2 separate regions of the Homo sapiens genome follow, and region 1 is linked to region 2. The links are contacts of gene promoters, found by promoter capture Hi-C in blood cells and fetal thymus (Javierre and others, 2016). All regions are on one chromosome and are shown on one strand. The core of a region is centred on a gene start or on the middle of the fragment in contact, and the rest is flanking DNA. Distances in the headings are between cores, read along the strand shown. Region 1 holds the start of USF3 (upstream transcription factor family member 3). Region 2 holds the start of SPICE1 (spindle and centriole associated protein 1).

Region 1 (4,783 bases), core at 1,709-4,208, 180 kb before region 2:
AGAAAAGAAAAGAGAAAAATCCCTGTTTGGGATTTAGGCTACACTTAGGTAATAAGGATTAATTTAAAAAGCTAATATTCTGATCTTTATCAAACGGAAATTGTTCTTCTTTTCTACGTCTATATCGTGCCAGAAATATATTAATGTGTATTTTTTAAAGGTGATCTAAAGGAATGGTTAAATTCTGTTTCATGAATCATCAAAACTATTTGTTTTTACTTTAGAATTGATGCATTGCAGTTGTTTAGGAAATCATGCACACCCTGGATATGATATTTGTTAACGAGAAATACCTTGTATTCTGAACACACTGGAAATTGTTTCCTATGGCTGAGCATACCAATACTATACAATTTTATGGTGATGTTATTAGCATTGCTATTATGGCTCTGACTCGTAGAATCTTTCTTATCTGCAGTTTTGATTTGGATGTGCCAAGTCTGTTCAAAGGCTAATTAGAACTTCGTGTGCCTAGATGGATGAGTTAAAGAAAATTTCTAGCCTGTTTATTAGTACCACAGTTTATAAGCAACATTACAGGCCTTCCGTTTCATCATAGCTTTTCAATCTGCTGTACAAACATAAGACTCCGTTACTGTTAGCCTTTACCCTTTTGCTCAATGCGATGTCTGCTGCTTCTGTATACAGGCTCAAGTAATTCCCATTATGCCATGCCCTGTGTGCACCTTCTGGAAGTTAGCCCACGGACATCTAAGATCTGGGATATTTCCAAATCTGGTTGTGGAAGGGCTTGGAAATCTATAACCGCAACTAGGTGGAGGACACCTGTTTCAGCAGGAGGTTATAAAATATGAAGCGAAACTAGGAAGAGGGAGTTGTGATCACGGTTCCAAGGGCTCCACACAGATCCTGGAGTTAAGGGGCACTCAGGTCTCCATTTCGTGACCCCTGGCCCTACCTCTCCTAGATCCAGGTATTTAGTAACCCAGGCTTGAGATCTCAAACCCCATCCCCCAATGCCAAACTCCCTTGTCCCAGCTGGGAGGCCCCCAGGGCATTTCTGAACATGGCCATCTCCAATTCACAGAAATCTGTGTGTTGTTGCAAATAAAGGATGACAAGAGACCACAGCCTACGAATGCGAGCAGCGTCAAGTCAGCAACAATCTTCCAGTTATCGAGAAGTCGGAAACGTCTGATTCTTTCTTCTCCACATTTACTAAGACGTATCTTCTCACCTTCCTGCCCTCCACGTTAAGAGGGGCTAACTATTCCGAAAGACTTCCGTGCCCTCTTCCTTTTCAATTTTTCCACTTCCAAACTCCTACCGAAAGACGAAGAAAAGAGACCACAGAAGAAGATACAAAGAAGTTTCTTAAAACACCTTCTTTTCTAGGTTCTCAAGGCGTCCCCTTTAAGGAACCAGGCCCACCTCTTTCCCATTCACCTACTGGCTTTCCTTCCTGTCCGTCACTCTACCTTTAAGAATATTTCCTGTTTCTTCAACCCAACTTGCACACCTCCGCCCCCCGGCCCTCCTCATTGGGCCGCCCGATCCCCGTTCACTCCTTGGTTTCCTCTCCGCCTCCTCCCGCCCTCTAGCGTAGTGCAACGGCATTCTGTCTTCTTATTGGCTACCACGGCAGCGTTCCCGCAGCCTGATTGGCGGGTTGAGTGAAAGAGGCGGGAACGCGGCGCGCCCAGGGTAGGCTGTTCGCTTGCTGAGCTGCGGCCGCGGGAGGGGCGGGGAGGGGCGGGGGGAGGGGGGCTGGGAAAGTTGAGGCCGCGCTGCCGCCGGGTCTCCGGCCTTGAGGGCTCGGGCTCGCAGCGGCTGCGGTGGCCGCAAAAAGAGGCGGCGGGGGCGGGGGGAGAGGAGGGCCTGGGCCCGCGCTCCCCCAGCCCCGGAGGAGCAGGCGGTGGCCGCGGACGGAGAGATTCGCCCAGACGGTCAGACACTCCTGCCTTCCCCTCCTGGGATCATGACCCAGGCGGGGGTCGCCGCCGTCGCCGCCGCCACCGCGGCCGAGACCGCGCAGCCGGCGGGTAAGTGACTGCGGGAGGGGGCCGCTGACAGCCGGGGCGGGGGGCGGGGGCCAGGGCTGCGGGGGCGGCTCCGGAGGGCGGCCCCGGGCTCAGCTCCACCCACCCCCTTCCTGCTCCGGGAGGCCAGGGCTGCGCTAAGTGCGCCTCCTTCCTGGGGACCCTTGCGTGCGGCACCTGGTGGGGCGTCAGCGCCCGCGGCGAGCGCACCCCTCATCTCCCGCCCGCCCTGCGTCCCCGGCTGCCAGGCCCGTGGGGGGCTCGCACTGCGCCCCAGCTCCTAGATGCGCGCGGGGCGAGAGGGGCCCCACGCTGCCCTGGGTGCATAAAGAGCTGGGCAGCCAGGTTCACACCAGATGGCCTTTGCCCGCCTCCTTCACCTTTTCCTGTCTTCTTCATTCCCCTTCTTTCCTTGCCCTCTGAATTTCTTTCGTACCCGTTCGTCAGACTCATGTGGCTTGCTTTTTCCCTCTCACCCCTCTGTCGAAGTGTTAGGCTTGTGTTTTCTTTTTAGAAGCCGTTCTTTTGCTTTCTGAGTAGAAGCAGTGCAAGTGAATGACCAACTCTTGAAATCTACTTTCATGTATCCGGATGAAATATAAGATTCCTGGACTCTTGTTCATGTTTACAATTTTGATAGTTGAATTCACCCCACTCGTTCTTGAAGCTTGTCCTCCCAACCCTCCTCGTTACATTGGGATATGGTCCTTTGCGTTTATTAACTTTATCTGGAAATATGAGACTGCATAAACCAAAGTGCAGAATTTCAACTTCCGTTCTTGTAACATTTTTACCATCAAGTAGATACAGTAACCTAACACCACACAGATCAAGACAGTCGTGGCCAACTGTGTAGGCAAAGAAGACATTTCCTTACCTATAAACAACGTACAGATTTCTTGAATAAATCTTACGGTGAGTTACATGGATCCTGAAACATATTCCCAGGTTTGCTCTTTTGTAAAGAAAACCAAACAGACAAACCTGCCTTTTGAAGGATCAACAGGCTGTCCTACTCTCCATTCACCTTGATGACTTTTTTCTCTCCCATAGAACTCTTGTTTAACATAGTACAGAGTTGCTGTTTGGGATACATGTGTTGTTTCTCTTTAAGTACTCAAAGTATTTGTTACAAAAGAAGTAAAATACATTGTAATTGCACTTCTGAAAGCAGAAGTAGTGTAATGTATCCATGCAAGAATGAATGCTTAATCCTAAAGCAGTTTTGCTTTAGCCTAAGCCAAGCTTTTCCAACCCCCGTCCAAGGACGGCTTTTAATGCGGCCCAAGACAAGAAGACAAGTTCGTAAACTTTCTTTTATTTTTTTTGAGACAGAGTCTCACTCTGTCGCCCAGGCTGGAATGCAGTGGTGTTATCTCAGTTCACTGCAACCTCCGCCTCCTGGGTTCAAGCAATTCTCCTGCATCAGCCTCCTGAGTAGCTGGGATTACAGGTGCATGCCACCAGCCCAGCTAATTTTTATTTCTTTAAGTAGAGACAGGGTTTCTCCATGTTGGCCAGGCTGGTCTTGCACTCCTGACCTCAGGTGATCCGCCTGCCTCTGTTTCCGAAAGTGCTGGGATTACAGGCATGAGCCGCTGCGCCCGGCCTCAAATTTGTAAACTTTTTAAAACATTATGAGATGTTTGTGTGTGATATTTATTTACTTATTTATTTAAGCTCATCAGCTATCGTTAGTGTTAGTGTATTTGATGGGTGGCCCAAGACATTTCTTCTTCCTGTGTGCCCCAGGGAGGTCAAAAGATTGGACACTCCTGGTCTAAGCTAAAAGACTTAGGTGTACATAGGTATTGGGATCTCCCTGTATTTAGGAGTTTTGCAAAATCTGGATGCAGCCTAGAACATTCGCTGATATAAAAGGAGTGCATTGCAGGGATGTAAGAGCAGCTTAGAATTGAAGTACTTATCTTCTAGGTTAGTCGTCTATGGAACATCGTGGAAGTAAAATTCTAAGGTTGTAGACCTTACACTCAATGAACCAGTCATGTATGAGAAATTGATGGGTACTTTTCCTATTTTCAGAGCTTAGCCTTGTCAACAAGGGAAAAGAAACACTAAGAAAACTGAGAATTTTTAACTCAGGTTAGAATACAAGCTTCAACAGGTAATCAGCTCAAGTTTGTTGCTTATAAACAGGGTCTTAAATCAAGCTTGAGCCTTAATCATATCTGTCATGCTTTACCTCTCTGTTCTCTAGTCCAGTAGTTCTCAATCCAGACTGTACATGAGCATCACCTTGTGTGTCTTTAAGTTTTAATGCCCAGGCCACTTCCCTCAGAAACTCTCTTATTTTTGATCTGGAGTAAAGCTCTGCCATGGGCATATTTTTTAAAGCTCTCCAGGTGATTCTGTTCAGTAGCCCTGGCTGAGAACTCCCATGAGACTACGTCCAAAAGCTAAGCTTGTGTTCTGGGCTTTCCTAAATCAGGCCTCACTCATGTGTCCAACTTTCCCCCCACTGCTTTTGCTACAGACGTTGACGTTGACCTTTCTCAGGATATGGACACCTTTCCTCTATTCCTCCCTACCGCCAATAATAGTTCTAATTACACTTTTATGAAAGTTTTCTGGATAGCTTACTCTAGTTCTTAGTGATCGACCCCCTTTGAACTTCTATGCTACATGGTTAAAAGATTCTCTTTAGGCTTACGGTATGTGGCAGTTTAAGTTCTATGTGTATGTGTTTCATTGTTCTCAAATGTTATGCTAAGGAATATTTTATTTTTCATCTCTTTCACAGTGGTTTTAAGTTGGATTGGTTT
Region 2 (5,395 bases), core at 2,006-4,505:
ATCTTCTAAACTTTCTGTATATGCTTAAGAACCATGTGTATTCTGCCAATTATTGGAGTGTTTAATAAATGTCAATCAGGTCAAGATGGTTGATAGTGTTGCTCAAGTCTCTTATAACCTTGTTGATTTTCTGCTTATTTGCATTATAAATTATTCAGAAAGGGGCATTGAAATATTTGACTATTGTGGATCTTTCAATTTCGCATTGCAGTACTATCAGTTTCTGCTTCATATATTTTTAAGTCCTGTTATTAGATGCAAAAATGTTTAGGATTGTTATGACCTTTTGATTAAATGGTTCTTTTATTATTATTAAATGATCTTCTTTATCTCTGGTTATATTCTCTGCTCTGAACTCTACTTTGTTTAAAATTGATAAAGTCACTCCACTTTATTTTCACTAGTGTTAGCATGATATATCTTTTTTCCATCCTTGTATTTTAAACTTATTTGTGTCTTTATATTTAATGTTTCCCTTCTTATAAGCAGCAATTTAAAAAATTCAAGATTTTAAACAATCTCTGACAATCTGACAATCTCTGCCTTTTATTCAGTGTGTTTAGACAATTTACATTTAATATGATTTATGAGTCTATCATCTTGCAATTTCTTTCCTACTTCTCTCTTTTCTTTGTTTTTTCTTGTTTTATACTTTTAGATTAATCAAGTATTTGTTTCGTTATCCTTTACATGACTTTTGTAAGCTTTTAACAATAACTTTTATTATTTAGTGGCGGCTTTAGGGTTTATAGTATACATCTTTATTTTATCATAGTCTACCTTTAAGTGGTATCAGGAATAGTATAAGGGTCAGGCGCGGTGACTCACACCTGTAATCCCAGCACTTTGGGAGGCCAAGGCGGGCAGATCACCTGAGGTCAGGAATTCAAGACTAGCCTGACCAACATGGAGAAACCCCGTCTCTATTAAAAATACAAAAATTAGCTGAGTATGGTGGTGTGTTCCTGTAGTCCCAGTTACTCCGGAGGCTAAGGCAGGAGAATTGTTTGAACCTGGGAGGTGGAGGTTGCAGTGAGCCGAGATCGTGCCACTGCACTCCAGCCTGGGTGACAGAGTGAGACTTTGTCTTAAAAAAAAAAAAAAAAGGAATAGTATAAGGATTCTAGGTTGATAGCTTTTTTTCTTTGAATATGTTTGAACTGTTATTCTGTCTTCTTGCTTGTTTTGATTCTAATGAGAAACTGATGTAATCCTTAGTTTTGTTCTGCTGTATACGACATGTATTTTTTTCCTTGGATGCTTTTAAGATTCTTTTATCACTCGTTCTGAGCAATTTGATTATGAAGTATTTTGATTAGCTTTCTTCATATTTCTTATGCTGAGCTTCTGAAGGCAGGTCTGTGGGTAAAGATAGTGACAGAAGGATTAAAATAATGATGGGAGCTTAGGGAAGTTCTCTTTTGAATAATTCAGTGTAATCAATGCAGTAGGAAGCAAGGTCATTGTGTGAGAATGAGGATAGGAGACAAGGCATTGGGTATGAATGAAGGTATAAAACTAATATGTAGGAAAATCAATGAACAGGGACCTGTAATGAGATGTTCAAGCATCTTTAAGGTCCTACTTAACATCAGTAATCATGAATTTAAAGTCAGCATGATTGGGTGTTTTTTTTCAGATTCAGCTGCATGGGTGCAAGCACTTAGTAAGTGTAAAGTAGGGATGGCTAATATGGTCATTTTGCCAAGTGATTACAGCAATTTAGAGAGGGGCAGGGAGTTGAGGATGCAAGCAAGTGGATGATTGTTGATTATTAAATATATCTACATCAAACTTCCTCAATCAGAGTGAAAACTATTAAAGGCAGTACCTTTCCTCTAGAAGGTTTTGGGCATGTATTTGCAGACCACACATGGGTGTATTGTAACAGCAGAAAGCAAGGGGCTAGAGGAAATTGTCTTACCAGAGCAAATAAACTCTGTTTTTGAATCAAGTGCTTTGTAAAGTTCTTAACGTGGTCCACGCAGCTCTGACTGTCGTGGATCCAGCCTATCAGGGCGCCTCCCCTTCACAGCAAGTTCCCACTGTTCTCTAAACTTCAGACACACTGGACCTCTTCCTGTCCCTTGCATTTTCCACATCTTTGCACATGCAGCTCCCTCTGCAGGAATGCTTTCCCCTTCCCCACTGGCCTATTCATGTCTGAGCTTTCCTGAGTAATTCAAATATTACTATAATAATAAGCTAAGTATTTGGTTAGAGTGCTTCCTTCTTAGCACTCGTCATAATTTTAATGTTTTTGTCATTGATAACTGTCTGTTAATATGCTGTAAGTTTCCCACCTTGCCTGTTTTTAGCCCCATAGAACCTAGCTCTCCCGCACATTTGTAGGTTGTAATAAACAACTTTTTTTTTTTTTTTTGAGACAAGGTCTTGCTTTGTCGTCCAGGCTGGAGTGAAGTGGTATGACTGTGGCTCACTACAGCTTTGCCCTCCTTGGCTCAAGCGATCCTCGCACCTCAGCTTCCTGAGTAGCTGGAACTACAGGCGTGTTCCCACGCCCAGCTAATTTTTTAATTTTTCGTAGAGACGGGGTTTCGCCATCTTGCCCATGCTTGTCTCAAACTCCTGAGCTTAAGCAATCCTTCTGCTTCTGTCTCCAAAAGTGCTGGGATTCCACTACTAAAGATTTGTAAACAAATGAATAGAGATGAAAGCAAATTAAGTGATATGTGAAGTCTGGTGAGGAGAGCAACATCTTTCTTTTGGAGAATTCTCGAGGCACCGGCTAATGCTATATGCCTATTCTTTTTTTTTTTTTTTTTTTTTTGAGACGGAGTCTCGCTCTTTCGCCCAGGCCGGACTGCAGTGGCGCCATGTCGGCTCACTGCAACCTCCACCTCCCAGGTTCACGCCATTCTCCTGCCTCAGCCTCCCGAGTAGCTGGGACTACAGGCGCCCGCCACCTGGCCCGGGTAATTTTTTGTATTTTTAGTAGAGACGGGGTTTCACCGTGTTAGCCAGGATGGTCTCGATCTCCTGACCTCGTGATCCGCCTGCCTCGGCCTCCCAAAGTGCTGGGATTACAGGCGTCAGCCACCGCGCCCGGCCTGCTATATACCTATTCTTTAATAATTTGCCCTGAACCTTGCAGAGGAACCTCTCTCCCTTAGACTCAGGACCCGAGATAGGCTTTGGGAGGCGCCTGCGCACTGGGCTCGCCGGATATACGCAAGGGCGTGGGGCGGAGCTCTGGTAACCCAGGCAACAGCCCGGAAGCCGCTGGCTGGGTTAACCTGTGGCGCGCTCCGCGGTTCCGGCGCCTGAAGTTTTAGCTGCGGTGGCGGCGGCAGTCGGGACCGACTGCAAGGCAGGTTGAGATGATGGATCTGAGGCTTGCAGCTCGCAGTCCCAACGAGCCTTAGGGACCAGGGCTACCAAAAGGGTGGGGAGAACGGTGGTGGCATCTGTCTGTTGCCTGGGATCCAGGCGCCCGGTTGGGGAATCCTTACTTCAGGAAGCGCAGCCGCGGCTCTGTGTTTTGAGAGTGCAAGTACGTGTCAGGGTGCGTGTCTGGGTATGTTTGTGCGTGGCGCCAGAGCACCTCGAGTATGCGCGTGCGCACCGCTTTCGGGAGCTTTTGCACAGAGCTGGTAATTGGGGGTGCTCGATTGTAGCGTTGGGGGAGTTCACCGTGTAGCAGGAGAGAGGCAAACTATCCAGGGTGCTTTGGGACCGGGAGCGTCATTTAAATCGATGGATGTCAGAGGGGCTTCTCAGAAGGCTCCTCCTGTGAGTTTTGAGGAGTCCGTGGAAGTTAACCCAGTAGAGAAGAGAGTGAGCCTAATGAGTGTTCCAAGCAGAGGGAAAAGAATGGTTGCAACTGTGTGTGAGGCGAGAGCTTGGTTTTAGGATTTGCGGGAGATGTGAGAGAACACTGGAAAGAAAAGTCAGCCGGGCCATATGGGGGAGAGGGTCTGAATGCCAAGCTGAGTTGGATTGCTTTTGACAGTGGGGAGCCATCCGAATCTAGAGGAAGTAGGTAAAGGGTTCAGATCTATTCTCTATCCATGTATTTAGGTAGGATTGATTCAACAGTGTTTGGAAAGAGTTCTTGTTTCTCTTTGATCAGTTTTCCACACCAGTCAGAGTGGATTTACTAAGTCCAGTCATAACTATCCCTTTTAAAATTCTTCAGTGGTTTCCTATGGTCTTAGGTGTTCAGATTGCTGTGGCTCACAAGACTACAATCTGCTGTCTGCCTTTCTTCCTTTAACCTCTCACCCTCTCAGATCTTTGTTAATTGAACTGAACTTCTCAAACTCTTCGTAAATGCATTTTCCCTTGCCTGGAATATTCTTTCCCCTGCTTCTAACTTTTATTCGTATTTTAGCTCTCAGTGCAAACATTTTTGGGGGTATTACAGAGAGGAGAAGCTTTTACTTACTGCATAGAGTTAGTTAGGTACTTTCATGGCACACAGAATTTACTTCCCATGCTGCCCTTTTGTTGTAAATACTTGTTTAATTGCGGTCCTCTTAGAAACTCTTAACTCTGCAAGGGCATAGACTATTCTACTTTCTTGTTATATCTGGTGCCTCGCTTTTAGATGGTGCTTCAAAATATTAGTTACATTAATAGATGGATGATGAAGTCAGTGAGTGAAGAGTGAAAGGGAGACTAATTAGAATAATGAGAGCCTGAACAAAAATATTTTTAGTAGAGATGGAGAAGAGCGGGCAAGAGAGATTTTTAGGGAAAAAGTTAATAGATTCTGTTATCTGATTCACTAAGAGATAAGGAACAGAGGTGATGCTGAGGTTTTAAATTGGAGCAACTAGGATTGTAATTCTGTAAATTCAGCTTAATTGAACATATTTATCGAGTCAACCAGTTATATATCAGCAAGTAGAGATTTGGGGTATGATGATGAGCTGTATTTTGATATACTGTATTTGTGATATTTGGGAGATGTATATAGTAGGTAGTTAGAAATGAGCATTTGGTGTTTTTGTTTTGTTTTTGTTTGTTTATTTTAAGAGACAGAGCCTCACTTTGTCACCTAGGCTGGAGTGCAGGGGCGCCATCGTAGCTCACTGCAGCCTCCAATTCCTGGGCTCAAGCAGTCCTCCCACCTCAGCCTCCTGAGTAGCTGAAACTATAGGCACTCACTGCCACTCCTGGCTAATTAAAAAAAATTTTTTTTTTAGAGACAGGGTCTTGCTATGTTGCACAGGCTGGTCTTGAGCTTCCTGCCTCAAGCGATCCTCCAGCCTCAGCCTCCCGAGTTGCTGGGATTACAGATGCGAGCCACTGTGTTTGAAGTTTTGAGGAAAGGTGTGAATCATTGATTTGGGACTCATTTTCACAGTGTGTTTGTTTGTCCATACATTCATAGCTTTGCTCAAGGGAGTTGGTGAGGTCACTGAGGGAG

Evidence for each region. Contacts are between HindIII fragments. The CHiCAGO score rates a contact against its expected background, and 5 or more counts as called.
Region 1: a contact is called between a fragment that was not itself captured here and the fragment with the promoter of SPICE1 in region 2, in 6 of 17 cell types (fetal thymus, non-activated CD4 T cells, activated CD4 T cells and 3 more). The highest score is 12.8, in fetal thymus.

The regions. Positions count from the first base shown.
Region 1 is chr3:113,693,590-113,698,372 of GRCh38, reverse strand. It overlaps USF3 (upstream transcription factor family member 3), which reads left to right and starts at 1,731. Exons shown (of 7, transcript NM_001009899.4): 1 at 1,731-2,003. RefSeq lists silencers at 1,521-1,990, 2,011-2,400. The HindIII fragment of the contact is 578 bases long and covers 2,670-3,247 here.
Region 2 is chr3:113,513,016-113,518,410 of GRCh38, reverse strand. It overlaps SPICE1 (spindle and centriole associated protein 1), which reads left to right and starts at 3,255. Exons shown (of 18, transcript NM_144718.4): 1 at 3,255-3,514. SPICE1-CFAP44 (SPICE1-CFAP44 readthrough (NMD candidate)) reads left to right here and starts at 3,255. Exons shown (of 52, transcript NR_183050.1): 1 at 3,255-3,514. RefSeq lists enhancers at 1,913-1,962, 2,023-2,072, 2,583-2,632, 3,339-3,388, 3,449-3,568. The HindIII fragment of the contact is 3,693 bases long and covers 707-4,399 here.